Regions from separate parts of the Homo sapiens genome. Here regions 1, 2, 3, 4, 6 and 7 are each linked to region 5. The links are contacts of gene promoters, found by promoter capture Hi-C in blood cells and fetal thymus (Javierre and others, 2016). All regions are on one chromosome and are shown on one strand. Each heading gives the region's core, a stretch centred on a gene start or on the middle of the fragment in contact. The rest is flanking DNA. Distances are from core to core; before and after follow the strand shown.

Evidence for each region. Contacts are between HindIII fragments. The CHiCAGO score rates a contact against its expected background, and 5 or more counts as called.
Region 1: a fragment that was not itself captured here is called in contact with the fragment with the promoter of GLCCI1 in region 5 in 9 of 17 cell types (activated CD4 T cells, naive B cells, total B cells and 6 more); the score reaches 10.6 in activated CD4 T cells.
Region 2: a contact is called between a fragment that was not itself captured here and the fragment with the promoter of GLCCI1 in region 5, in 4 of 17 cell types (megakaryocytes, erythroblasts, fetal thymus and 1 more). The highest score is 12.9, in megakaryocytes.
Region 3: a fragment that was not itself captured here is called in contact with the fragment with the promoter of GLCCI1 in region 5 in 12 of 17 cell types (naive B cells, fetal thymus, megakaryocytes and 9 more); the score reaches 13.2 in naive B cells.
Region 4: a contact is called between a fragment that was not itself captured here and the fragment with the promoter of GLCCI1 in region 5, in 3 of 17 cell types (megakaryocytes, M1 macrophages and erythroblasts). The highest score is 7.3, in megakaryocytes.
Region 6: a fragment that was not itself captured here is called in contact with the fragment with the promoter of GLCCI1 in region 5 in 4 of 17 cell types (erythroblasts, naive B cells, total B cells and 1 more); the score reaches 7.6 in erythroblasts.
Region 7: a fragment that was not itself captured here is called in contact with the fragment with the promoter of GLCCI1 in region 5 in 3 of 17 cell types (erythroblasts, megakaryocytes and M0 macrophages); the score reaches 6.9 in erythroblasts.

Annotation. Positions count from the first base shown.
Region 1 is chr7:7,615,811-7,619,326 of GRCh38, reverse strand. No RefSeq gene overlaps it. Among named protein-coding and RNA genes, the nearest start is that of UMAD1, 23 kb to the left of the region's middle. The HindIII fragment of the contact is 5,558 bases long and covers 1-3,516 here.
Region 2 is chr7:8,296,083-8,299,841 of GRCh38, reverse strand. All of the region lies in intron 3 of ICA1-AS1 (ICA1 antisense RNA 1), which reads right to left. Among named protein-coding and RNA genes, the nearest start is that of ICA1-AS1, 36 kb to the right of the region's middle. The HindIII fragment of the contact is 4,184 bases long and covers 1-3,543 here.
Region 3 is chr7:7,662,237-7,665,597 of GRCh38, reverse strand. The region is part of intron 4 of RPA3 (replication protein A3); the gene reads left to right. All of the region lies in intron 1 of UMAD1 (UBAP1-MVB12-associated (UMA) domain containing 1), which reads right to left. Among named protein-coding and RNA genes, the nearest start is that of UMAD1, 23 kb to the right of the region's middle. The HindIII fragment of the contact is 4,085 bases long and covers 1-3,361 here.
Region 4 is chr7:8,251,726-8,255,478 of GRCh38, reverse strand. The region is part of intron 1 of ICA1 (islet cell autoantigen 1); the gene reads left to right. Among named protein-coding and RNA genes, the nearest start is that of ICA1, 8.6 kb to the left of the region's middle. The HindIII fragment of the contact is 3,240 bases long and covers 9-3,248 here.
Region 5 is chr7:7,967,349-7,970,640 of GRCh38, reverse strand. GLCCI1 (glucocorticoid induced 1) reads right to left here and starts at 1,845. Exons shown (of 8, transcript NM_138426.4): 1 at 834-1,845. The coding sequence starts at 1,290. GLCCI1-DT (GLCCI1 divergent transcript) reads left to right here and starts at 1,889. Exons shown (of 5, transcript NR_110018.1): 1 at 1,889-2,097. RefSeq lists an enhancer at 383-472 and silencers at 953-1,032, 1,123-1,182, 1,263-1,662, 1,873-2,022. The HindIII fragment of the contact is 4,760 bases long and covers 1-2,850 here.
Region 6 is chr7:7,598,338-7,601,919 of GRCh38, reverse strand. The region is part of intron 11 of MIOS (meiosis regulator for oocyte development); the gene reads right to left. Among named protein-coding and RNA genes, the nearest start is that of MIOS, 33 kb to the right of the region's middle. The HindIII fragment of the contact is 2,383 bases long and covers 59-2,441 here.
Region 7 is chr7:8,277,720-8,281,180 of GRCh38, reverse strand. All of the region lies in intron 3 of ICA1-AS1 (ICA1 antisense RNA 1), which reads right to left. Among named protein-coding and RNA genes, the nearest start is that of ICA1-AS1, 17 kb to the right of the region's middle. The HindIII fragment of the contact is 676 bases long and covers 1,516-2,191 here.

The sequences.
Region 1 (3,516 bases), core at 847-3,346, 350 kb after region 5:
GCTTGCAGATGGCGCATCCTGGGACTTCTCAGCCTCTATAGTCATGAAGTCAGTTCCCATAATCCCCGTGTGTGTGTGTGTGTGTGTGTGTGTGTGTGTGTGTGTGTGTGTATGTGTGTATCCTACTGGTTCTGCTTCTCTGGAGAACCTAATACACACGTGAATACATTTCCTATTTGAAAATTAAACTAAAAAGTCTTCATGATAAACAGTTGTTCCTGAATGGTTAGCCCTCAGGTAAACCAGGTTCATTTTTCAATAGGATTCATTGTAACTGAATTGGCCAAGTCCAGTCACTTTGGTCTGTTAGTATATGAAGGTATCCTGAAAACAGGGTATCAGACATTTTGTTATTCTCGAAAATATGATTCTTTCTATAGTAGAAATGACTGAGAAACAAGATGAATACCAAGGACACACAGTTACTGACAAGAAGATTATAAAGCATAATGGGCTAAGCAATGTTGTAACAAAAATTATCTCTGAAACAAGACCATCAGGGGCCTTTGGCAGTACTATTAGTCCTCCTCACCCTAATTGCTGTCAAGGTGTGGAGAATCTGGTTAAACATTGAAAGAGAAATGATTATCATAAAAGAAACAAGGCACTGGGTGCAGTGGCATGCACCTGTACTCCCAGCGGCTAAGGAGGCTGAGACAGGAGTTCAAAGCTGTAGTGCACTAGGATCACACCTGTGAATAGCCACTGCACTCCAGCCTGGGCAATATAGCAAGACCCTGTCAAGGAAGGAAGGAAGAAAGGAAAGGAGGAAGGGAGGAAGGGAGGAGAGGGAGGAGAGGGAGGAAAGAAACAGTGACAGTGAAAAAACTGACCAAAGCTAACTTTCAAATTATAGCAGAAAAGGTGTAGAAAGAGGGAATTACATATAATTCAGGGCTTTTCCATATAGGTGTTTTTTTTTCCTCAAAGTAAACACCATTAAAATTGAGCATGGAAATGAACAAGCAGTGCATTGTAAATAAATACAAACAGTGAATAGTCATATAAAATCTATGTTTAACCTCATTCAGAATTGAATATATGTAAATTAAAATATTTTCAATATTTTCATCTACTACATGGCTATAAGTAGAAATTTTATAATGCTTAGCGTTGAAGGTGTTGGGAAAACAGGCACTTTCCTATGCTGTTTAGTTTATAGGGAGATAATTAGTTCAACTTTTGGAGGGCTATTTGTCAATATCTATCAAAATGTAAAATACACATAACTTTTGGCTCATAATTCCACCTAATTTATCTGAGAAATTAACTCACTCACAAGTACCCAAAGATTTATACTCAAAGATGCTCACTGCAGTATCATTTGTAAAAACGAATGGAAATACCCTACATTTCTATCAATGGGAGATATAGACATCTAATCACACACCATTCAGTCAGTTTTTAAAAATTAGATATATATAGGCTAATAAGGGAAACTCTTCAAAATACATATTTTAGATAGGAAAAAACCATTAGAGGAGAGTTTATGCAGTATGATCTTATCCAGGCAAAGAGAGAGAGGCAAAGATGAACGCAGACAAACACAGCCAGATGTGGTTTATGTAAAGAACATTTCCTTACATGTGTACAGACTTTAAAGCAGCTTTTCCTAGAAAGTGAGAGTTGGCGTTTAGGGAGGTGACACATAGAGCAGGAAGATAATGGGGCAAACTGCTAAGAAGATATTTACTTCCACTTTATACTTTATGTAATTTTTTTTTCTTGTGATAAGCCTGCATTTTTTCCCAATTTTTTATTGTGGCAAAATACGTATAATATAAAATTTACCAACTTAACCTTTTTTAAGCATACAATTCAATGATATTAAATACATTCATAATTATGTGCAACTATCACCACCATCCATCTCCAAAACTCATTTCATTGTGTAAAACTGAAACTCAGTATCCATTAAACAGTAACTCCCCATTCCCTCCCCTCTAGTCTCTGGCTACCACCTTTCTATTTTCTCTTTCTATGATTTTGACCAATCTAAGTACCTTATACAGGTGGAATCATAAAGTATTTGTCTTTTTGGTTAGATTATTTTGCTTAGCATAATATCCTCAAAATTTATTCATGTTTCAGCATATCAGAATTTCCTTTTTTTTTTTTGTCAGGGTCTTAATCTGTCACTCAGGCTGTATTGCAGTGGTGTGATCATAGCTCACTGCAGCTTTCACCTCTCAGGTTCAAGCAATCCTTCCACCTCAGCCTCCCGAGTAGCTAAGACTACAGGCATGTGCCACCATGTCTGGCCCAGTTTTGTATTTTGTGTAGACATGGGATCTCACCATGTTGCCCAGGCTCTTCTTGAACTCCCAGCCTCAAGCAATCCTCCTACCTCAGCCACCCAAAGTGTCGGGATTTCAGGCGTGAGCCACCATATCCAGCTCCTTTCTTTATAAGGCTGAATAATATTGCTTTGAATATGTATACCACATTTTCCTTATTCATCTGTCCAGGACACTTGAGTTGCTTTCACATTTTAACTATCGTGAATAATGCTGCTATAAATATTGGTACACAAATAACTCTTTGAGACCATTTCAAAAGATTGCTTTCAATTATTTTAAGTATATACCCAGAAGTGCAATTGCTGGATCATATGGTAATTCCTTTTTCTTTCTTTTTTTTTCTTTTTTTTTGAGACAGGGTCTCACTCTATCACGCAGGCTGGAGTGCATTGGCACAAGCATGGCTTGTTGAAGCCTTGAACTCCTGGGCTCAAGTGATCCTTCTGCTTCAGCCGAGACTACAGGTATGCTCCACCATGCCCAACTAATTTTTGGAATTTGTTTTTGTAGAGTTGGGACCTCGCTGTGTTGCCCAGGCTGGTCTTGAACTCCTAGGCTCAAGCAATCCTCCCACCATGGCCTCTCCAAGTGCTGGGATTACAGGTGTGAGCCACCACATCTGCCTGGTAATTTTATTTTTAATTTTTTGAAGAAACACCATACTGTTTCCCACAGTGACTTTACCATGAGCCTGTATCATTTTTATAATAAAAAGTTAGCTTTAAAATTATTGGAAGTTCATATGATATACATCATACTAACAGAAGAATTCATCTGGTCCAGTTCATTGTCTATGAAATATAAGAGTACTAGACTTCAGTGAAGAGACTTGAGATCTAATTTCAGCTTTACCATCCGGTTCGAATACCTCTCCAATTGTCCAAATTGGTAGTTAAGCTGAAAATGACAAACAGGTGAACACTGGCCAGTTGGCAGTTGGTGCCTAGAATACTACGCTGAAAAAGGATCTGAGGGAAAGTGGGAGATTGATGAACCACTTGTGCCAAAGGTAAAGAAGTGTGTGGTCATTCACCACTAGGTCAAGCACAACTTGGCCTAACCTGTCCATCTCATGGTGTCTGAAACGAGTTGCTGTATTTCTCATTGGAGAATTTTAACACATAGAGGAAGTTTGCTATTGGCTCACATGTAGAAATCTTGTTACTATGTGTTTTTCTTATCACCCAGTGCTTCTTACCATGACCATTTTCTTCCC
Region 2 (3,759 bases), core at 202-2,701, 330 kb before region 5:
AACTTACAAGGGATGTGAAGGACCTCTTCAAGGAGAACTACAAACCGCTGCTCAAGGAAATAAAAGAGGATACAAACAAATGGAAGAACATTCCATGCTCATGGGTAGGAAGAATCAATATCGTGAAAATGGCCATACTGCCCAAGGTAATTTACAGATTCAATGCCATCCCCATCAAGCTACCTATGCCTTTCTTCACAGAATTGGAAAAAACTACTTTAAAGTTTATATGGAACCAAAAAAGAGCCCGCATCACCAAGTCAATCCTAAGCCAAAAGAACAAAGCTGGAGGCATCACACTACCCGACTTCAAACTATACTACAAGGCTACAGTAACCAAAACAGCATGGTACTGGTACCAAAACAGAGATATAGATCAATGGAACAGAACAGAGCCCTCAGAAGTAACGCCGCATATCTACAACTATCTGATCTTTGACAAACCTGAGAAAAACAAGCAATGGGGAAAGGATTCCCTATTTAATAAATGGTGCTGGGAAAACTGGCTAGCCATATGTAGAAAGCTGAAACTGGATCCCTTCCTTACACCTTATACAAAAATCAATTCAAGATGGATTAAAGACTTAAATGTTAGACCTAAAACCATAAAAACCCTAGAAGAAAACCTAGGCATTACCATTCAGGACATAGGCATGGGCAAGGACTTCATGTCTAAAACACCAAAAGCAATGGCAACCAAAGCCAAAATTGACAAATGGGATCTAATTAAACTAAAGAGCTTCTGCACAGCAAAAGAAACTACCATCAGAGTGAACAGGCAACCTACAAAATGGGAGAAAATTTTCGCAACCTACTCATCTGACAAAGGGCTAATATCCAGAATCTACAGTGAACCCAAATTTACAAGAAAAAAACAAACAACCCCATCAAAAAGTGGGCAAAGGACATGAACAGACACTTCTCAAAAGAAGACATTTATGCAGCCAAAAAACACATGAAAAAATGCTCACCATCACTGGCCATCAGAAAAATGCAAATCAAAACCACAATGAGATACCATCTCATACCAGTTAGAATGGCAATCATTAAAAAGTCAGGAAACAACAGGTGCTGGAGAGGATGTGGAGAAATATGAACAACTTTTACACTGTTGGTGGGACTGTAAACTAGTTCAACCATTGTGGAAGTCAGTGTGGCGATTCCTCATGGATCTAGAACTAGAAATACCTTTTGACCCAGCCATCCCATTACTGGGTATATACCCAAAGGACTATAAATCATGCTGCTATAAAGACACATGCACATGTATGTTTACTGCGGCATTATTCACAATAGCAAAGACTTGGAACCAACCCAAATGTCCAACAATGATAGACTGGATTAAGAAAATGTGGCACATATATACCATGGAATACTATGCAGCCATAAAAAATGATGAGTTCATGTCCTTTGTAGGGACATGGATGAAATTGGAAACCATCATTCTCAGTAAACTATCGCAAGAACAAAAAACCAAACACCGCATATTCTCACTCATAGGTGGGAATTGAACAATGAGATCACATGGACACAGGAAGGGGAACATCACACTCTGGGGACTGTTGTGGGGTTGGGGGAGGGGGGAGGGATAGCATTGGGAGATATACCTAATGCTAGATGACGAGTTAGTGGGTGCAGCGCACCAGCATGGCACATGTATACATATGTAACTAACCTGCACAATGTGCACATGTACCCTAAAACTTAAAGTATAATAATAAAAATAAATAAATAAATAAAATAAAAAAAAAGGAAAAAAAAATTAAGAAAATTTATCTTCACTGACTCAATGTACAAATAAATAAATGATAGCAAGGCCAACTGCAGCTCTAAATAGTAGAGAATATAAATGATTCAAGCATAAAATGGTCAGAGTTCCCTGAATAAATATTTTCCTACAGTCATGTATAAATAATTCTGATTTCTGTCTGAACCACCTGTCTGCGTTCCTAGGGAAACTAAAGTGAATACATGCCTGTCTGTGACTCTACTCCCTGTATCAAAAGCCAAAGTGGACACAGCTACAGAGGGGAGAGAGGTTGTCTCCACATTCTGTTGTTGGATCACTCTCTTATTCACAATCGTCCCAGAAGCCATAGACAATAAAGGAAGGAGGAGCTGATGCAAAGGAATTGGATAGGGAGGTTCTCACCCTTCCATGTGTGCGGATAGTTTGGGTGTGTTGTAAAGACTCCAGACCACGCTCCAGACCATCTAAAGTTCCGGCTTCCATTTCTAACTGCCCTTACTAGAGCCTTAGGAAAAGCATTTAAATGCACTGCGACTTGGGTTGCTTCTCTTACATAGTAAGGAAAGAACCAGGAACAGACAAGATAATAATGATGATAATTTTTTTTTTTTTTTGAGACGGAGTCTCACTCTTTCGCCCAGTCTGGAGTGAGTGGCACAATCTCTACTCATTGCAACCTCTGCCTCCCAGGTTCAAGCAATTCTCTTGGCTCAGCCTGCTAAGTAGCTGAGATTACAGGTGTGTGCCACCACGCCCGGCTAATTTTTGTATTTTTATTTATTTATTTATTTACTTTTAACAGAGATGGGGTTTCACCATGTTGGCCAGGCTGGTCTCAAACTCCTGACCTCAGGTGGCTGCCTGCCTCGGCCTCCCAAAGTGCTGGGATTGCAGGCGTGAGCCACCACACCCGGCCAATGATGATACTTTTAAATAGTATTGAAAAAAAGAGAATTAAAGCACCATGGTGGAGACCGAGACTGGGAATGGTGAGAATTCTGAGTTAACCATTTTGGAGAAGGATTAAACTGGAGGTGCCGGTCACTCTGCACTAAAGGAAATATTAAGATTCTACACATCACAAATTGAGAATTTAAATGTGAGAGGGAAATAGTATGCATTTCATAAAAGTACACTTGCTTATGTATTCATTTATGTATAAAAAATTAGAGTTGTGGGAGACAAGAGAACTAGGATTCAGAAAGCAGGGGTAAGGACCTCACCACCATCAAAGGGAAACCAAGAAATTATGACAAACAAAATGAAGATTGAGATTTACCCTGCCTCTGTCTATATTTACAAAAAGGGAGCTCAAATCCCAGCTGATGTGTTGTCAGTTCCCTGGGTTCGAAGCCAGAGAACTCAGTAGTTCAGGGGTGTGCTTTTATTTCTGGATCTGTCCTGTCTAGCACAGAGGTTGACGCAAGAGTAGGAGTTAAATGAGAGGATAAACAAATTAATTTATTTATTTTTAAATTTACACCTCCACTAATCCAATCAATTGCATGGAAGTACATCTGCTTCAGAGAAGTAGCGACAGAGCCAAAGGAATTTGGAGCTCTGTTTATAATACTGCATTTACAAGAAAAGAGTTATCAAAGTGTCATTCTCTGAAAAACATGTTGCTCATTCACCTACTTAATAAAAAATAAAAATCTAAAAACTCATGATATAAATAATAAAGTAGAGAAACCAAATCTGAACAGTTAGGTTTCCAACTGGCCACTGGTATATTTTCAAATGGAAAAGGCAGCCATTTTAAAAACAAGACTTACCAAGCCTTTGGGAAAGCTTGAAGGTAGCTAAATCTGTCATTGGTATATGCAGCCACCAGATGTCACTATTGGCTTAAGCAAATATGCTCTAGCTCGCTGTCGGCTAATTCACACTATTTGTAATCTTAGAGACCTTGGAGGGCATCCTACCTAGACAGTTGATGAAATTGAAGCTCTAGTTACTTCATAGCTATTTGCAGAGACATCAGGACTCAATCTAGAATCTTCAGACTC
Region 3 (3,361 bases), core at 629-3,128, 310 kb after region 5:
GCAGTATAAGCACACATCAAAACTCATCAAATTGTATATTTTCAATGTGTTACTGATCCAATCTCAATAAAGTTCTTTAAAAATTTATTGACACAATTAGATGTCACATGTAAGTTTTAGTTCACAATTATTGGGAAAATTGTCTCAAATCTCTTAACCCACTTTGTGTTACAGGGACAGTCTTTATATAAAAAGCAAAATGTTTCTTTTCTGCATGCATCACACAAAACTAGAAAATAAAAGGACACTGTATTGACTTTTAATGGTATACACAGACTGCGTATAAAAGGGCCTGCCTAATTGCTTAGCAGGGCAGATCCTATTGTTCAGAATAGAGGTAGGAGAGCACTAGAATATATTTCTTTTTTCCTATTACTCCAAGGCTTCCCTTTTAAGTAATATTATCCATGACAAAAGGATTAGGCAACATGGTTTTCTCAATTTGATTATCTCCTTTGAATTTCAACAGACTACTAGTTAATGTAAATATATCAAATAGACTAAAATTCCTGTGTGATTGATGCAGCTACTGTCTATAGACAGAATAATGTAAATACATGTGTATGAATGTGTGTGTGTGTGTATATATATATATCTATATATCACCCACACACATTTTATTCCAAATACAATAAATATGTAAATTTCACAGTGCTGAAAAATTAAAATCCTGAACGATGTTTAACCTTCCTCCTTTTGTACAGTGAAATGCATGATTATGCAAATATAAAAATTTAGACAACAAGTTTACTAATTTCTCCTCAGAGATACCAATACAGTACAGAGGAAGGTAGGCCATGCTTTTGGTAGCTTTAATCTTGAGTGATAAGAATACACAACCTAAAACAACGCTAGAAAGCATAAAACATTCCAGAAAGATCAATGTGAATTAGAACTCTGGTAGGCTGCGCAGACTAGGTAGCCTTGAGTTTAACTTCATCTGATGTGTATAAACAAAGAAGAGAAGGAAGGCCTTTCCTGTAGGAAGGATCAACATGAACAAAAAGCATAGTGGGTATAGAGGAAAGCAAAGAGATTAACCTCACTAGAGGAAGGAACCATGTAGATAAGCAACAGAAATCAAGACTGCAAAAGAAGGGAAGAAATAAATTACTGAAGAGTTGTAAGCGTCAGGAAAGTGTCAGCATATTCAGAGTGGCAAAACAGGATTTGTTGGACATTACTGGGCAGTCTGGAGTCTTGAGCAAAGTATTTAAGAGAGATTAAATGTAAAATAGCATGCTAGAGAGACTGAGAAGAGCCTGGAGCCAAGAAGTTAAGACAGTTGTACTGAAACGGGACTGGATTAAGATGGGTGAAGTTTGAATGAGAAAAGAAGGGATGTACAGAAATGATATGGAAAAGTGGTATTATGAATAAGAAAAGGAAAAGTAGGGGACTTTATCTTAAGAGAAGAAAATAATAGTAAATTCCATTTCAATCTGATTTTCCAAGACAAACTGGAAATCCAGCTATTATGTAAAAATCTAGGTTTTAAATAATAGCAAGAAATTCACGATGTTTACAAATACTGTGCAGATGGTAGAAATCCTCTAAAACTGGACTTGGCCTTCAGGTGGCAAAGTGTTTTAGACCTAGGTTAGGAATTAATAGCCTAAATCTAATCAGTAGAAGGAAAAATTGTTTAATACTTTAGAATTCAGTAGATTTCCTGGCTAGCTCACCCATTCAGGTTATTCCCACCTTTGCTTGTTTTGACTAGGCTATTTTATAAATCTGTAGGAATAGGAGATCAGTTGTATAAAACTGATAGTCATGCATGTAATTCCTATCCATAAAAATGCTTCTGGTAAAATGCATTCGTTATTGCCCCGGGGATACTAACCAATTTTGCATCCATTTATAAATTTTACATTCCTTATTTGCCTATCAGTGTGTGATGAGGCTTTGAGTTCTCTTTTGAACCAGTTGCAGTATCTCACTAGTTCTCTCCTTAATTAACAAGTTCAGTATTTAACAGATTTTAGATTCATAGTAGAGACCTGATTTAATCCTCTTTTAAAATTTATCCTTTAGTATCAGTTAGACTACTAATTAGTATTACATAAAGACTCTCCCCCTGTTTTTCCGTCCCACCTAGGTTTTTTATTTTGTAGTTTTTGATATTGGTGTAATGGGGAAGAGGTACAGATGCCTGAGAGGATAAGCAAGAGAAGACATTTAAACTGATGTCACTTTTCAGCTCCACAGAACAGCTTGGAAACTAATTAATTAAATTGATTAACATAAATTTTACTTCCACCTCTCTTATTTATGCTCAGACTTTTAAAAAATGAAAGAAAAACAAAGAAAGAAAAAACTATCTTAGATTTAGGTGTTTGCTTCAAACTGCAAGTTCCAACCCTTGAGTGGAAGTAAACAATTTAGCAGGTCAAGACCAGACTTTTTTTTTTTAATGGAATGAAATAGGAAGAAAAAAAAAGTAGGGGAAGAGGGAAAGAAGGCAAAAAGATTGAGAGCATTATACATGGTAACTAATGCTTTATAAACTTTCGCATTTGGGTGCCTGTGCTGGGTTATAATAAGAAATCTATTTTCTAGTTTGGGCTACAGGCAAAAAAGGCTTTTTCAAAGCACTCACACACTTCTTTAAATTTTTTTGAGAAAATTATGTACTTTTTAATTTCACATCTAAAACTTTCCATTGAAAATTATAAAGGACATAGTTTCTAGCATACTATAAATATTTACATGTTGAAACAAAATCATTATATCTTTCTTTTAAATTTATTCAACAAAATCTAAACACCACAACATTTTAACACTCACCATTAACCATTTTAAAAATACATGAAGAGGGGTTGCTGGCAAGATGGCCGAATAGCAACAGCTCCATCTGCAGTTCCCAGTGAGATCAACACAGAAGGCGGGAGATTTCTGAATTTCCAACTGAGGTACCCGGCTCATCTCATTGGGACTGGTTAGACAGTGGGTGCAGCCCAAGGAGGGCGAACAGAAACAGGGTGGGGTGTCGCCTCACCCAGGAGGCATAAGGGGTTGGGAAACTCCCTCCCCTAGCCAAGGGAAGCCTTGAGGGACTGTGCGGTGAGGAACAGTGCACTCCGGTCCGGATACTACGCTTTTCCCACGGTCTTCGCAACCCACAGACCAGGAGATTCCCGCCGGTGCCTATGCCACCACGGACCTGGGTTTTAAGCACAAAACTGGGCGGCCATTTAGGCAGACATCGAGCTAGCTGCAGGAGTGTTTTCTTTTTTCATACCCCACTGGCCCCTAGAACGCCAGCAAAACAGAACCATTCACTGCCCTGGAAAGGGGGCTGAAGCCAGGGAGCCAAGTGGTCTAGCTCAGTGGATCCCAACCCCATGGAGCTCAGCAA
Region 4 (3,753 bases), core at 379-2,878, 290 kb before region 5:
TCCAAGCTTGGAACCTTACAGATACTGATATTTGAGATGCAGACACAGAGGAAAAGAAGCTAGCAAAGAAAATTGAAAAGATAGAAAAGTGTGGAGAATATTTCCTGAAAAGTAGAGGAAGAGGAGCATTTCAAGAAAGGAAGAGAACGTGGTCAAAAGTCATGAGAAATGAGGACTTGAGTGGGGCCCATAGTGAAAGATGTTCTCTGGGCTGGTGGAGAAAGGAACCAGAGAGCATGGGCTTAGAACTCTTGACTGTGAAGAGAAGGAAGAGGATGGGAACTGAGAAAGAGTTTGAAGAATGAGGCCTGATGGTAGAAGCCAAGGGAGGTTGATTAACATGAAAGAGAAGAGACAGAAAGATGGACTAAGGTGGGCAGGGGTAAGAGTGTAGGAGCTGTCCTTCCTAGGGAGAAGGAAGCGAACAGCAGGTTGTGGTCATGATTCTGGATAGCTCCAAAGAAGTGAGCAGGGGTGCACAGAGAGTGGAAACTGTGACAGAAGGTGCCCAGCGCAGTGCCAAGGCCATGGTTCCCCAGAGTGCGTGAAGAGGGAGACTGCCTGTCACCACCCTGCAGGGTTTTCTTCCCACTGCTCCCTGAAGGCCAGGAGCTAAGTGTCCTGGTGCCTAATGCTGTTGACTCAGTGTTGCCATTTGCAGCATTGGCATCATTGTGAAGTATGTAAACATTGTGTTGTGTTTGTGCTAAGCCACTCCCCACTTTCTGCTTCCTGTTTCTCTCTTCTCTGCACTCCTAACCTGGAACTCAGTACCTTCAAGCAACTTTCTGGGTTTTCTACCTGGTCTGCCCTAGAGGGTACATGCCCAATATCCCTGTCTTTCCTGACCCCCATCAAAATAACCAGTCTTGTGCTTTATAAGCTCTGGGCTTTGCTGCTGTTTATTTCCTGAGAAAGTAGAGAGAACCTGAAAAAGGGATCTTTATTAGTTCTCAAATAACGCCAACTAGATGACCCAGCAGACGCAAGTGTGGTGCTGTTAGCTGAGCATACATGATCATATAGTGCTTTCTTCTGCTGCCTGCTTCCCTTTGCTGCTGACCTCTGAGATCCTTTCTTGCTCCTCCCTTCCCCTGCCTGGACTGCCTGCATTCCCTGCTCCTAAGCCAGCCCAAACTCAAACATGATTTACCTGCCACAGCTTAACCAAGGAAAGTTCTGGAATATGTGCCATTTCCAGATAAAGGAGCTGTGGTGGTTTGTTTACAGGACCCGTGCACAGCATACACATTTTATAAACCACATATTGGTGTCTGCATAGTTCAGTAATTTAAGACTAATGAGACAAATTTTACTCTGTGACTTGGGAAATTTCCCCAAATTTCCCTCAGTTCCTTCAGTGAAAAGAGGAGGTTGGACTAAATGATGTGTAAATTCTCTCCTCACTCTCAGCCAGGAGGTTCTGTGGAGTCATAACAAATTGCTTGATCACATCTTTTGGAGGCTTCAAATTATGAATTTAATCTTAAAGGAAGAGAACCTTATAAACATTAGCATCTCCCTGATTATTCTGATGGCTGATATTATGCTTACGTGCAATTTCATATAATTATAGTCCCCACATTCATACTCTTGGTTCTTCCTTCACACTGTTATTATTAACCATTCATACGTTTCTATGTACATATGAATTAAAGTCATCCCTCTGTATACACAGGGGATTGGTTCTAGGACCACCCTCAGCTATGAAAATCCACACATGCTCAAGTCCTGCAGAGCCCTGCAGAACCCATGTATGTATATGAAAAGTTGACTTTCCATATACACAGGTTTCTCATGCCAGGTTTCTCTCTTTATATTTAATTATAAGCAAAAAATGTACTTAAATATAAAAATATGATTATAAAAAAATAGAAGATATATTTTCTATTTGCCTTTGGTTGAAAAAAACTGGTGTATAGGTGGACCTATGCAGTCCAAACCCATTTTCTTTAAGGGTCAGCTATATATATTTGTGATTTCTAAATATATGTATACATTTTACATTTGTGGATACATATTGTATATATTACATCACATTGTCCTTACATTTTTACTTCTGATGGTCTTATAGTAGCCCACCACTTCACTTACTATTCACATAAATCTAATTTGACACAAATAGTACATTGTGCACACAGATTTGGACCTTTTTAAACTTGTAAAAATATGGAGTACAATCATTTTGTAGGTTATTTCAAAAGAAGATACATATGATTTTATTTTTGTAATGACATCTCTGACAGAATGTCAGAGATTCTGAGCAGAAATAACTGTTTAAGGGTATTTGTAACTAGTACAGAATATTGGTGACCGAAGTTATAGAATTAATTTCTAGCTCTTTTTTGATTTGTTTGATGCCTTAGACTGAGGCTCTCCAACAAAAATATAACAGCAGCCACATATATAATTTAAAACATTCTAGTAGTAAAATATTTTTGGCTTAAAAACTAAAAAGAAATAAGGTGGGGGCTGTGGCGTGTGCCATGCTTATAATTCCAGCTACTCAGGAGGCTGAGGTGGGAGGATTGTTTGAGCCTAGGAGTTCAAGACCAGCCTGGGCAACACAGTAAGACCCTGTCTCAAAACAAACAAAAACTAAAAAGAAACAGCTTAAATTAAATTGATAATTTATTTGATCTAACCCAAAATATTCAAAATATTGTTTCAACGTAAAATATAAAAAAGTAATAAATAAGCAAAAAATATAATTAAATATAAAGCAGAATATATAATATACATATGTAAATATGTAATATATAAATGTAGTTATATAAAATTTAGATATATACAATATATCAACATGAAATAATTTTTATAACTATAAATACATGGATTTATTAATGAGACATTTTAATTTTTTGTTACTAAGTCTTCAAAATCCAGTGTGAATTTTACATTTAGAGCTCATCTGAATTCATACCAGCCGTATCTCAAGTGCTCATATTACATGTGGCTAGTGTCTGCTATATTGGACTGCATAGTCTTAGATGATAAAGTCAATTTATCTGAGGTTATTCTTCCATAAAAAGAAAATTTAAGTTGGTGCAATTCTTTAAAGTAAGATTTGTAAGAGCCTTCCAAGTTTTATAATTTGATCCCAATAAAATATAAGGATAACATTTAGACCTATGATTTAATAATGTTCTGTGCTGACATCGAAGGGCGTAGTATTCCTTCACAGAACTTGATCGAGACTTTTATCTGATTAGGGTGTTCCTTCATTCTTCAGCTTTTGAAATTAAGCTTTTAGAGAAAACACCACCATAAATACAGAGTAAAATCTGTATGTGAAATTTGATTTGATATTTGAAATTTATGTAAACCAAACTAAATAAAATCAAAGGTGAATATAATTTATACTGCAAACTTTTAAAATTACTTTTTTCTTTAGCAGAGGTAACCCATTTGTTCTGTTTCTAGTGTTGTTTTACACTTTATATTTTTATCTTTCTAGATTTCTTTTAGGTTTGTGGTTTGCAAATACCTACCTCTTTGTTATTACTGCCATGATTTTTGGTGTAGCACAAAATTCACCATCGATCATCCTTTGAAAGGAGGGCTTTAAGCAAAAGAAAGAGGAGCAAGACCTAGACCACACTTTTTGTGAGCAGTTTGAGTTTTCTGGTTTGTTTTTAATTTGTTTTACATGGATATAATATTTAAAAATTTTACAATAATATTAATGCTGAAGATGACATTTTAGAAAGTAGCTTGGCAATTTTATTTTGGTTTCTGTTATATTTGATATTT
Region 5 (3,292 bases), core at 596-3,095:
GCTCACCATTACCTTTGACACCTAACAAAAAAAGAAACTTGAGATCCTTGAACAGCTCAACTGAACTGTTAAGTGTACTTAAAAATGGAAGGAAAAAAACGAACACGTTCCACAAATAAGTTTTCAGAAATTTACCATGAAAATCTCCGGTAGAGCACAAACTGTTTCCAGTGCAGGAGTGCTCTGATGCATGAATATATAAAGGGGAGGGGGAGAAAGAGAGGGAGAGAGAGAGGCGGGGTGGCGGGGGGCTGGGGGAGAGGGAGAGAGGGAGGACTGAGGGAAAAAACCGTATACACTTCAATTGTACATTCAAAACTGTCCCCTCTAGCAGATATCATTACATCCAGCCGATATCCTTACATCGAAACTAATGCCACCAACCCTCTAAAAAATAAAATACTATCCCGGTAGTTACAGGCACGTTAGGAACTTTGCAGAAAAGCACAAAGAGACGGTAGAGATTACAACCGCCACCTTATCCGCTGCTGAAGAGTTTGTGTGCGTGTTAAGTGTTTCGCCCAGCTTCTCCTTCCCCGGCTACAAACGGCAAACACACGAATGAGCTAGCCAGCTCTTAAACTGAAAAACCTCTCGAAGCAGGCGAGTGATGGAAGAGAGACTCTGAGGGGCGGCATGAGGGTCAAATAAAAGTCGCTTTTCAGTTCGCTCCTCCAAGCCCCACAGCGACCGCAGGGGGGTGAGATTCCCAAAGCCACTTTCACACCTTCGATAATGCACTAGCAAAGAGAAGCCCGAAGAGGCTGAAGTTTCCACGGAGGGCACCGTCGGGGAGACGCAGCCCGGGAGGACGGGAGGGTTGGGCTCGCTACCTCTGCACACGGGCGAGCCGGGGCTCCGTCTCTCAGGTGAGCTGCTCCTCCGGTGGCTCTCTGGGGACCGTCTCGGGCGGCCCTTGGCCCGCGGCGCCTGCTCGGCCGGGGCTGCGGCCGCCGGCGGCGTCGGGCTGGACGGGCTGGGGCCGCGGGCCGCGCCGGGCCCCGGGAGGCTGCCCAGCGAGGCGGCGGCAGCGGCGACGGGCGGACGCGTGGGACTGTGCTGGCTGCCCCGCAAGAGCTGGTAGGGCACCGTGGCGCGGATGGGCTGCAGCAGCCGGCCGGCTCCCGCAGCCGGGGCGCAGCCCACGCCGCCGCCGCCGCCCGCACCGTTCCCGCTCCCGGCGGCGGCGACGGCGGGCGGGGACCCCGCGGCGCTGCGCCTCATCCTCTGCGACGGGGGATGAGGGGTCTGAGAGGAACTGGAGGAGGAGGAGGAGGAGGCAGTGGACATGGTGGCTCTGCGGGCCCTGGACGCCGCCGGCCGACACGGAGGCGCGGGGCGGGAGGCGCGCGAGCGTGTGGGAGCCGGCGCGATAGTGCGTGCGAGTGTGTAAGGGGGAGGGGCGGGGGTATCGCTGTGGGGGAGGAGTCTCGGGGCTCCCCCTCCCCAACGCACACCCCCGCCGCCTCGGCGAGGGGGGAGGGGAAGGCTGCGAAAACAAACGTCCAACGGCCGCAACCGCCCGGCTGGGCTCGGTGTGGCGGTCACGGCCGGGGCCGCAAGGAGCCCGGAGCCGCCGCCGCCACCGCTCCAGGCATCGTGCTGACAGGGCAACGGCCCGGATCACGCAGCCCCGAGGGCCGCTCGCAGCCTTCTCCTCAGCCCTCGCAGGGCTGCACGCACGGGAGAACCCGGCAGCTGCAAGGAGGGCCGGGACCCCTGCTTCTGGGGACCAGGGTAGAGAGAAAGGGCCTCGAGGTGCTGGCGCTCCTCGGAGTCCGCGCCACCGCAAACGCCGCCGCCGCCGCCGCCGCTTCTACCCACTCCTCACTCCGAATGGCAACTAATTCGCCCCAGCCGCACCCCGCCCCCGGCACCGCCTCCCAGCGCCCAGGACCCGGCAGCTGCCGCAGCGAGCATTTCCATTGGCTTAGGCGCTCCCCACTAGAACTCGAGTGATTGGTTCTGGAATAGGAGTGAGAGAAGCAGTGTCCAATGACAATGGTGCCTCCTACTTTGAAGGCGGGGCGTGAGGGGTGGCAGCGTGAGGTGGGGGCTGTGCGCGCAGGGAGGAGCGTAAAAGTTGACAGCCTTGAGGTAAGTGCGAGACTAGGAAAGTGGGACTGTGTGTGTCCTGCGCGTGTCCCGACACCCCCAGACACGCAAACGCCCCGCTAGGCAGGTTGCAGGGGCTCCACCCTCCTGGGCCGTCTGTATGACTTGAGACACAGGACACATGAGGCAAACTTTAATTTGCAAGTACACCTGCATCCGGTGGGATGTTTTAGTTAGAACCAGAAGACTGGATCTCTTTTAGTAAGCTGAGTTTTCGTGACCAGTAGCCTTATTAATCAAAAGAACTTCTGGTGATCAGGAGAAATGTCTGGAACCTGCACTGAACAAAGTAAAATACTCTTACAGCCTAACATTTGTAGTTATGCAGTGAAAAGAGATTATCAAGTTCTATGTTCCAAGACAATAACACTGAATAGCAGGGGTCAACAAGGAATTTTATGTCATTACACCATCAGTTAGATATATTAATGAAGGGCGCCCCTGGCTTTTCCGAAGCAGATAGCTTCTTGGGAGGAATAAATACCAGATGTAATGTAATAATCCATTGTGGTAAATTTGTTTTTTATTCTGTAATGAAACTGAAAGCGTACAAAGATTTTGGATGACTATCAAAAACATAAATTTACCCCACAGTAAACCAAGGTTTTAAACCTTAATCGGGAGCAATTAATGTAAGGATCTTCATCAGATAACTTTCATTAATTTTCAAGAGGTTAAAAGAGAAGCACAATGTCAAATTGGTCTGCTCGTGGTGTCTGCCCACACTGACAAGCTTCCTCTGATTTCAGGCACTATATGCAGGGGTCACTTTCACGTACAGGAGCCATCCTTCTTTTCTTCCTTGTGTGTTCAGACGAGAAAGCATACTAGGTTCAGTAAAAAAATTGATGAAACTCAATAAAAATACAAAAATTTCATGCAGTACTTCATCCAAGTAAAACTAGTGATAGTTCCTCAGTTTACCACATATTATAATAAGAGCTAACATTTATTCACCATGTGCCAGCCGCTATTCTAAGAACATTATGTGTGTTAATTCATTCAGTCCTCATATAATCCACAAGGTAGATACTATTATTATCCTTACTGTGGTCTCAGTTGTGGCATAAATAAGCTGTCTTGCCTGAGATCACATAGTTAGTATATGGGGAGCTAAAAATTTCACCCAGACAGACTGGCTCAAGAGTCTGAGGAAGCACTCTGCTATAGTACCTGG
Region 6 (3,582 bases), core at 1-2,500, 370 kb after region 5:
ATGTTGAACCAGCCTTGCATCCCAGGGATGAAGCCCACTTGATCATGGTGGATAAGCTTTTTGATGTGTTGCTGGATTTGGTTTGCCAGTATTTTATTGAGGATTTTTGCATCAATGTTCATCAAGGATATTGGCCTAAAATTCTCTTTTTTTGTTGTGTCTCTGCCAGTCTTTGGTATCAGGATGATGCTGGCCTCATAAAATGAGTTGGGGAGGATTCCCTCTTTTTCTATTGATTGGAATAGTTTCAGAAGGAATGGTACCAGCTCCTCCTTGTACCTCTGGTAGAGTTCGGCTGTGAATCCATCTGGTCCTGGACTTTTTTTGGTTGGTAAGCTATTAAGGATTGCCTCAATTTCAGATCCTGTTATTGGTCTATTCAGAGATTCAACTTCTTCCTGGTTTAGTCTTGGGAGGGTGTATGTGTCCAGGAATTTATCCATTTCTTCTAGATTTTCTAGTTTATTTGCATAGAGGTGTTTATGGTATTCTCTGATGGTAGTTTGTATTTCTGTGGGATCGGTGGTGATATCCCCTTTGTCATTTTTTATTGCGTCTATTTGATTTTTCTCTCTTTTCTTCTTTATTAGTCTTGCTAGCAGTCTATCAATTTTGTTGATCTTTTCAAAAAAAAAACCAGCTCCTGGATTCATTGATTTTTTGAAGGGTCTTTTGTGTCTCTATTTCCTTCAGTTCTGCTCTGATCTTAGTTATTTCTTGCCTTTTGCTAGCTTTTCAATGTGTTTGCTCTTGCTTCTCTAGTTCTTTCAATTGTGATGTTAGGGTGTCAATTTTAGATCTTTCCTGCTTACTCTCGTGGGCATTTAGTGCTATAAATTTCCCTCTAAACACTGCTTTGAATGTGTCCCAGAGATTCTGGTATGTTGTGTCTTTGTTCTCGTTGGTTTCAAAGAACATCTTTATTTCTGCCTTCATTTCGTTATGTACCCAGTAGTCATTCAGGAGCACGTTGTTCAGTTTCCATGTAGTTGAGCGGTTTGGAGTGAATGTCTTAATCCTGAGTTCTAGTTTGATTGCACTGTGGTCTGAGAGACAGTTTGTTATAATTTCTGTTCTTTTACATTTGCTGAGGAGTGCTTTACTTCCAACTATGTGGTCAATTTTGGAAAAGGTGTGGTGTGGTGCTGAAAAGAATGTATATGCTGTTGATTTGGGGTGGAGAGTTCTGTAGATGTCTATTAGGTCCGCTTGGTGCAGAGCGGAGTTCAATTCCTGGATATCCTTGTTCACTTTCTGCCTCGTTGATCTGTCTAATGTTGACAGTGGGGTGTTAAAGTCTCCCATTATTATTGTGTGGGAGTCTAAGTCTCTTTGTAGGTCACTAAGGACTTGCTTTATGAATCTGGGTGCTCCTGTATTGGGTGCATATATATTTAGGATAGTTAGTTCTTCGTGTTGAACTGATCCCTTTACCATTATGTAATGGCCTTGTCTCTTTTGATCTTTGTTGGTTTAAACTCTGTTTTATCTGAGATCAGGATTGCAACGCCTGCCTTTTTTTGTTTTCCATTTGCTTGGTAGATCTTCCTCCATCCCTTTATTTTGAGCCTATGTGTGTCTCTGCACGTGAGACGGGTTTCCTGAATACAGCACACTGATGGGTCTTGACTCTTTATCCAATTATCCAGCACTTGATTTCTATTAGATCCTGTTTTACTTTGGAAATGGACTTTTCTGATTTCACATGCCAAAAAAAAATAATTTGCTTCTTTTTCTTTTTTTTAAACTTTTACTTTAGTTTCAGGGGTACATGTGCAGGTTTGTTATACAGGTAAATTGCGTGTCATGGGGGTTTTGGTGTACGGATTATTTCATCATCCAGGTAATAAACATAGTACCCGACAGGTAGTTTTTCGATCCTCCTCCCACCTAGCACCCTCCAGTAAGCCCTGGTGTCTGTTATTCCTTCTTTATGACCATATGTTCTCAATGTTTAGCTCCTACTTATAACATGTGGTATTTGGTTTTCTGTTCCTGTGTTAGTTTGCTTAGGATAATGGCCTCCAGCTCTATCCATGCTGCTGCAAAAGACATGGCTGCATAGTATTCTATGCTGTGTATGTACCACATTTCTTTATCCAGTCCACCACTGATGGGCATTGAAGTTGATTTTATGTCTTTGCTATTATAAAGAGTGATTATTCTCTAACTTAGCTCAGCAATGCCTTTAAAGATCATATTCAGGCTCTCCCTAATTTTCCTACTGTTTCTTATCAGTTCACTTCCTAGGTCCTTTCACAACAATACACTTGCTCTTCCCAAACACCCCCTGTACTTATCATAATACTTACCAATCTCTTCACCCTAGTTCATGTTTTTTACACTTGGTCTGCAACCTGGACGGCTTCCCTGCAATCTTCATATATTAAATCTACCAAACTTTAAAGGACTGGCTTAAATGGTAACTTCCTCCTAAAGCTTTCCAGATATCCTTCAGATAGAAGTAATATTTCCCACTTTCAAAATTCCTAATTCTTTCCTTATATAATAGTCCTAATTCATGTTGGGGGTTTAGATGTGTTTCAGAATCCAGGATGTTTGGGATTTTAGAAAAAAGTAGCAAATATGTACACCTTGAGGGAAGTCTAAAGCACCCTGTAATCAAACTCGTTAGTATTTCTGTAGTGAAAGATGAATATTCACTAATAAATAAGAGAAATAAATATCTTAATAGCCTCACATCAATTCTGAACAGGTTTTGTGGTCAAATGAGATTACCGTAATTTTATTTTTAAAAGGCATTGGATTTTCAGATCTTTTTAGAGACTTTGAAATGACAGATAAGGCATTGTAGACCAGTATTTATTTTCTAGAAAATATCACTTATTTTATATTCGTTAACTATGCTTATTGCACACCAAGAGCTCCAAGAGGTTCTTTGATTTATTCATCTCAGCACATCAGCATTATATTAATGTATCAAGTAAAATCAGTGTTCAAATATGTATTATATATATAAAGAAATTATTTCTGTAGCAAATATGGAAAAAAATTCTATAACAAATATGGAAAAATGTTAATATTTGATAAACCTGAGTGCTATTCGTTATATTAGTCATCATAACAAAGAATTTCAAATGTTTTAAGATTTTTCTTCAAATTCTAGAAAATTATTTTCTTTTCTTACCTATTTCAAAAATAGAAAAGATTGAAAAACTGGTATTCAGCAAAAAGGAAGAGTGCCCAGGTGTAAGAATGCAAATAATCCTTATAGCTTCCTGAGGCTTATGGTCCAAAAGATGTGTTACATTTAATTATTTCTATATATCTCAGTTCATACACATATATGTCTTATTTATGCTATATTTTACCTCGAGCTCTCATTGTTGTAGATATTCCAAATTGTTATTTTCTGTTTATTAGGACCAGAGTTAACATAAAACAGTGATCAGTATGTAATGTATAAAATAAAAATCCTTGATTAAAATTTAAATCAAAACTAAAATGTACATTTAAAACATTACATATTCTCTTCATTTCTTTAAAAAAAGCATCTAGATGGAAAAATAATCGCTAAGCCAATGATACCAGCAAGTCTTTCATAAATGTTAATGTAATGAT
Region 7 (3,461 bases), core at 604-3,103, 310 kb before region 5:
GGGTAATTGAAATATATGAGTGTGGCAGACACAGTTCCTTGCCTACACTACAGCCTTTCTTTCCTTTTACTGCAGACGGAACCTCAGAAAACTGGCAGGGATCCCTTGATTTAGGGACAGCTAGGAAATTAATCAAGGTAATTTTCACTTCACAGTCATGAGTCTAGAGTTGGACATGTGAGCCATTTCTGGCCAATGAGATCTAAGGATAAGTCCACCAGGGCTTCCTTCGAGGCTAAAACCAGACCCTTGATAGGAGAAAGCTTTTGCCCTCTTCTTCCCTGTCTGCAATGCTCACCTAGGTCTTAAAGACAATTTGGAGCTCCTACAACCATCTTGTGATCAAGGAAAAGATCCAAAGAATTGCAAAGAGCTGACTAAGTCACTGTCATTTAGTTGAGCTGATAAACCAACCCTGGAACTGTCTTTGTCAACACTTCTTGATATGTCAGAAAACAGGATGCTTTTATTATTTAAGTCTACTTGTCATGTGTTCTATTACTTTCAGCTAAGCACATTCCTGAGGGTTTTATAAAGACTCAATTGATAAGGCAGTTCCATCTCATGAAGGCCCTTACAAGCTATATTCTAAGGAACACCTTTTTATTTGCAGTGGCAGAAATCTATTTCTATCTGGCTTAGATAAAAGGGGTTCTTCATAAGACTGTATTGGGGTATCTCACGTGATCCGAGGAAGGGTTGGAAAACCAACTTCTGGAAGGACAGAACCACATGAATGAGAGCTTCTAATACCACCTGCAGAATATTCCCTATCTCTGGGCCTGGTGCAGTGGCTCATGCCTGTAATCCCAGAACTTAGGGAGGCCAAGGTGGATGGATCCCTGAGGTCAGGGGTTCAAGACCAGCCTGGCCAACATGGCGAAACCGCATCTCTACTAAAAATACAAAAAATTAGCCAGGCATGGTGACAGAGGCCTGTAATCCCAGCTATTCGGGAGGCTGAGGCAGGAGAATTGCTTGAACCTGGGAGGCAGTGGTTGCAGTGAGCCAAGATTGCACCACTGCACTCCAGCCTGGGCAACAAGAGAGAAATTCCATCATATATATATATGTGTGTGTGTATATATATACACACACACACATATATATACACACATATATATGATGTATATATATCATATATGTATATATGATACATATATATGATGTGTATATATATATACATATATGTATATAGATGTGTATATATATACATATATGCATATAGATGTGTATATATACATATATGTATATAGATGTGTATATATGTGTGTGTGCATATATACATATATATGTGTGTATATATACATATACGTGTGCATATATATACATATATATGTGTGTGTATATTTATACACATATATATACATATATATGTGTGTGTGTGTATATATATATATATGTATTCCCTACCTCTAATCTCTGATCTTCCCCATGGGTTGGTTTAATCCTTTCTCACTACTGACCAGGTTCCTGCACATGGTGAAAAACATGGCCACTGACAGCTCCCAAGCTTCTCCTTTTATAGCTTCTCCTCCCCAGGAAGGACCGGCACATGTGTCCTCTAATATTAAATTTTAAACTCTCATTTTATTTCCATCAGTAAAGAAAGAAGATCCAGGTGGCCAGAGCAATAGATAACCACCTCATAGGGAACCACCAGAAGGTTTGAAGCCAAAGAAAGTCTTTATTCAGTACAATTAAGTTTGTACGTTAGAAAGATGTACCCTTGGTTTAGGTTAGATAATAGATTAGGAGGGTCCTTCCAGGAGGAAGGACAATTGCCATAACTTAAGTGAGAAGTCATAGTGCCTACAAAAAGGTGGCGATGGCTCAGACAAGATTAAAGCTCTTATATAAATAGTGTTAATCTAGCCATTTGTAGTTAGTCCTCCTTTCAAAATCACAATAAGGAATATAACTTGTTTATGGTGGGGTGCAGGGGAGTGGACAGAGAACTGCATATATAATTATAGTTTTAAGTAAAGGCTTTAGAAAGAGATTAATCAAGTTGCCAGCTTCTATCATGATCTACATTTTTGTTTTAAAGTCTACTGTTAAGATTTTGTAGGTTTCAAGTAATGCTGAGGCAATACTTATTAGATGTTGATTTAACATAAACATTGATAAATAACTTGCAAGTGTGTTTAGGACATAAAATATCAAAAATGAAAATCCAGTGATCCAAGCTTATCATGTGTTCCTACCAACCTAACAAATTTTAGTAGAAAATCATTTGCTGCATATTTTGCAGAAGGAACACAGTTTATCTGAAATCAAAGGCAGATGACAACTCAGGCTGTATATATTAAGATGCTAGTAAATGAAAGTAAACTGCTCAAAATAAAAGCATAGTCATGAAACTAAAGAAGACCAAATACAATTGTACATAATAGTAAAAAACTTAACCCAAGATAATTAACAAACATGCTATTCTTGCAACTTAAATATGAATGGGTGATTTCACTGTTATTGATAGGATTTCAGAAAAATATTTTCTTCTTTTTAGTGTCTAAATCTGATCTACATGGGTGTTTCTTCAAGAGTGGATCACAAACCAACACAACAGGGAGAAAAGACAATAGATGGAAGAGGTTACGTTGAGGAAAGAAAAGGTAACAGAGGAGGAAGAGGAGGATAGCCTCAGTGTAAACCAATAAATAGTTACTGCGTGTCCCAGGTTCCATGCTAAGATTGGCAACATAAGTTGGCAGGTTTCTGCTGCAAACTTACCAACCAATACTTGGTAACTCCTCAGGGTTACTGAGCCAGATATGGCCTGAATAAGAGCACACTTATCACCATTTACACAAAGATGAAGCACAGGAAGAAGGGAACACAGTTTCTTACAGATCTGCACCTGGACTCTGTGAGCCCTCTCTCTGTATTCTCTACCTTACCCAGGCTGCTCCAGCCTCTCAGTGCCAGAGTTAGTGGTTCTCAAAATATGGTGTGTATCAGAATAACCTGGGGAGATGGCTTACAATGTGCAATTATTGGCCTCACTCCAAGAATTGATCCATTAGTTCAAGATAGAATGCACATTGTTAATGAACCTCTCAGGTCTACTTGCCCACACTGAAGTTTAAGAACCTCTGCCCTAAGGAGAGAGCTTCACGCCCATGAGGGAATCATATATTCTCTGACTTTTTAAAAAGGCAAGTCGTGGTCATAGTCATTGGGGAGGTTTGAGTATATATTAAGATACATTTTAAATAAAAATTGTAGGATTAAATATTAAACAGTAGTAGAAATAAGAAATGGGACCTATGTGAATTTAAAGACTTTTAAAAACTATTCTAAAATTGTTTCTGCTTTACATGATGAAGAGATTATTTTTGACATTAAAAAGTAGAACGTCTATGACTAAATCTGGTAGATATAGCAGAAGGCCTAACCAGAAATATCAAACTCACCGTGGTTAACAACAGGGCATCAGAATCACATGCTGATCTTTATAA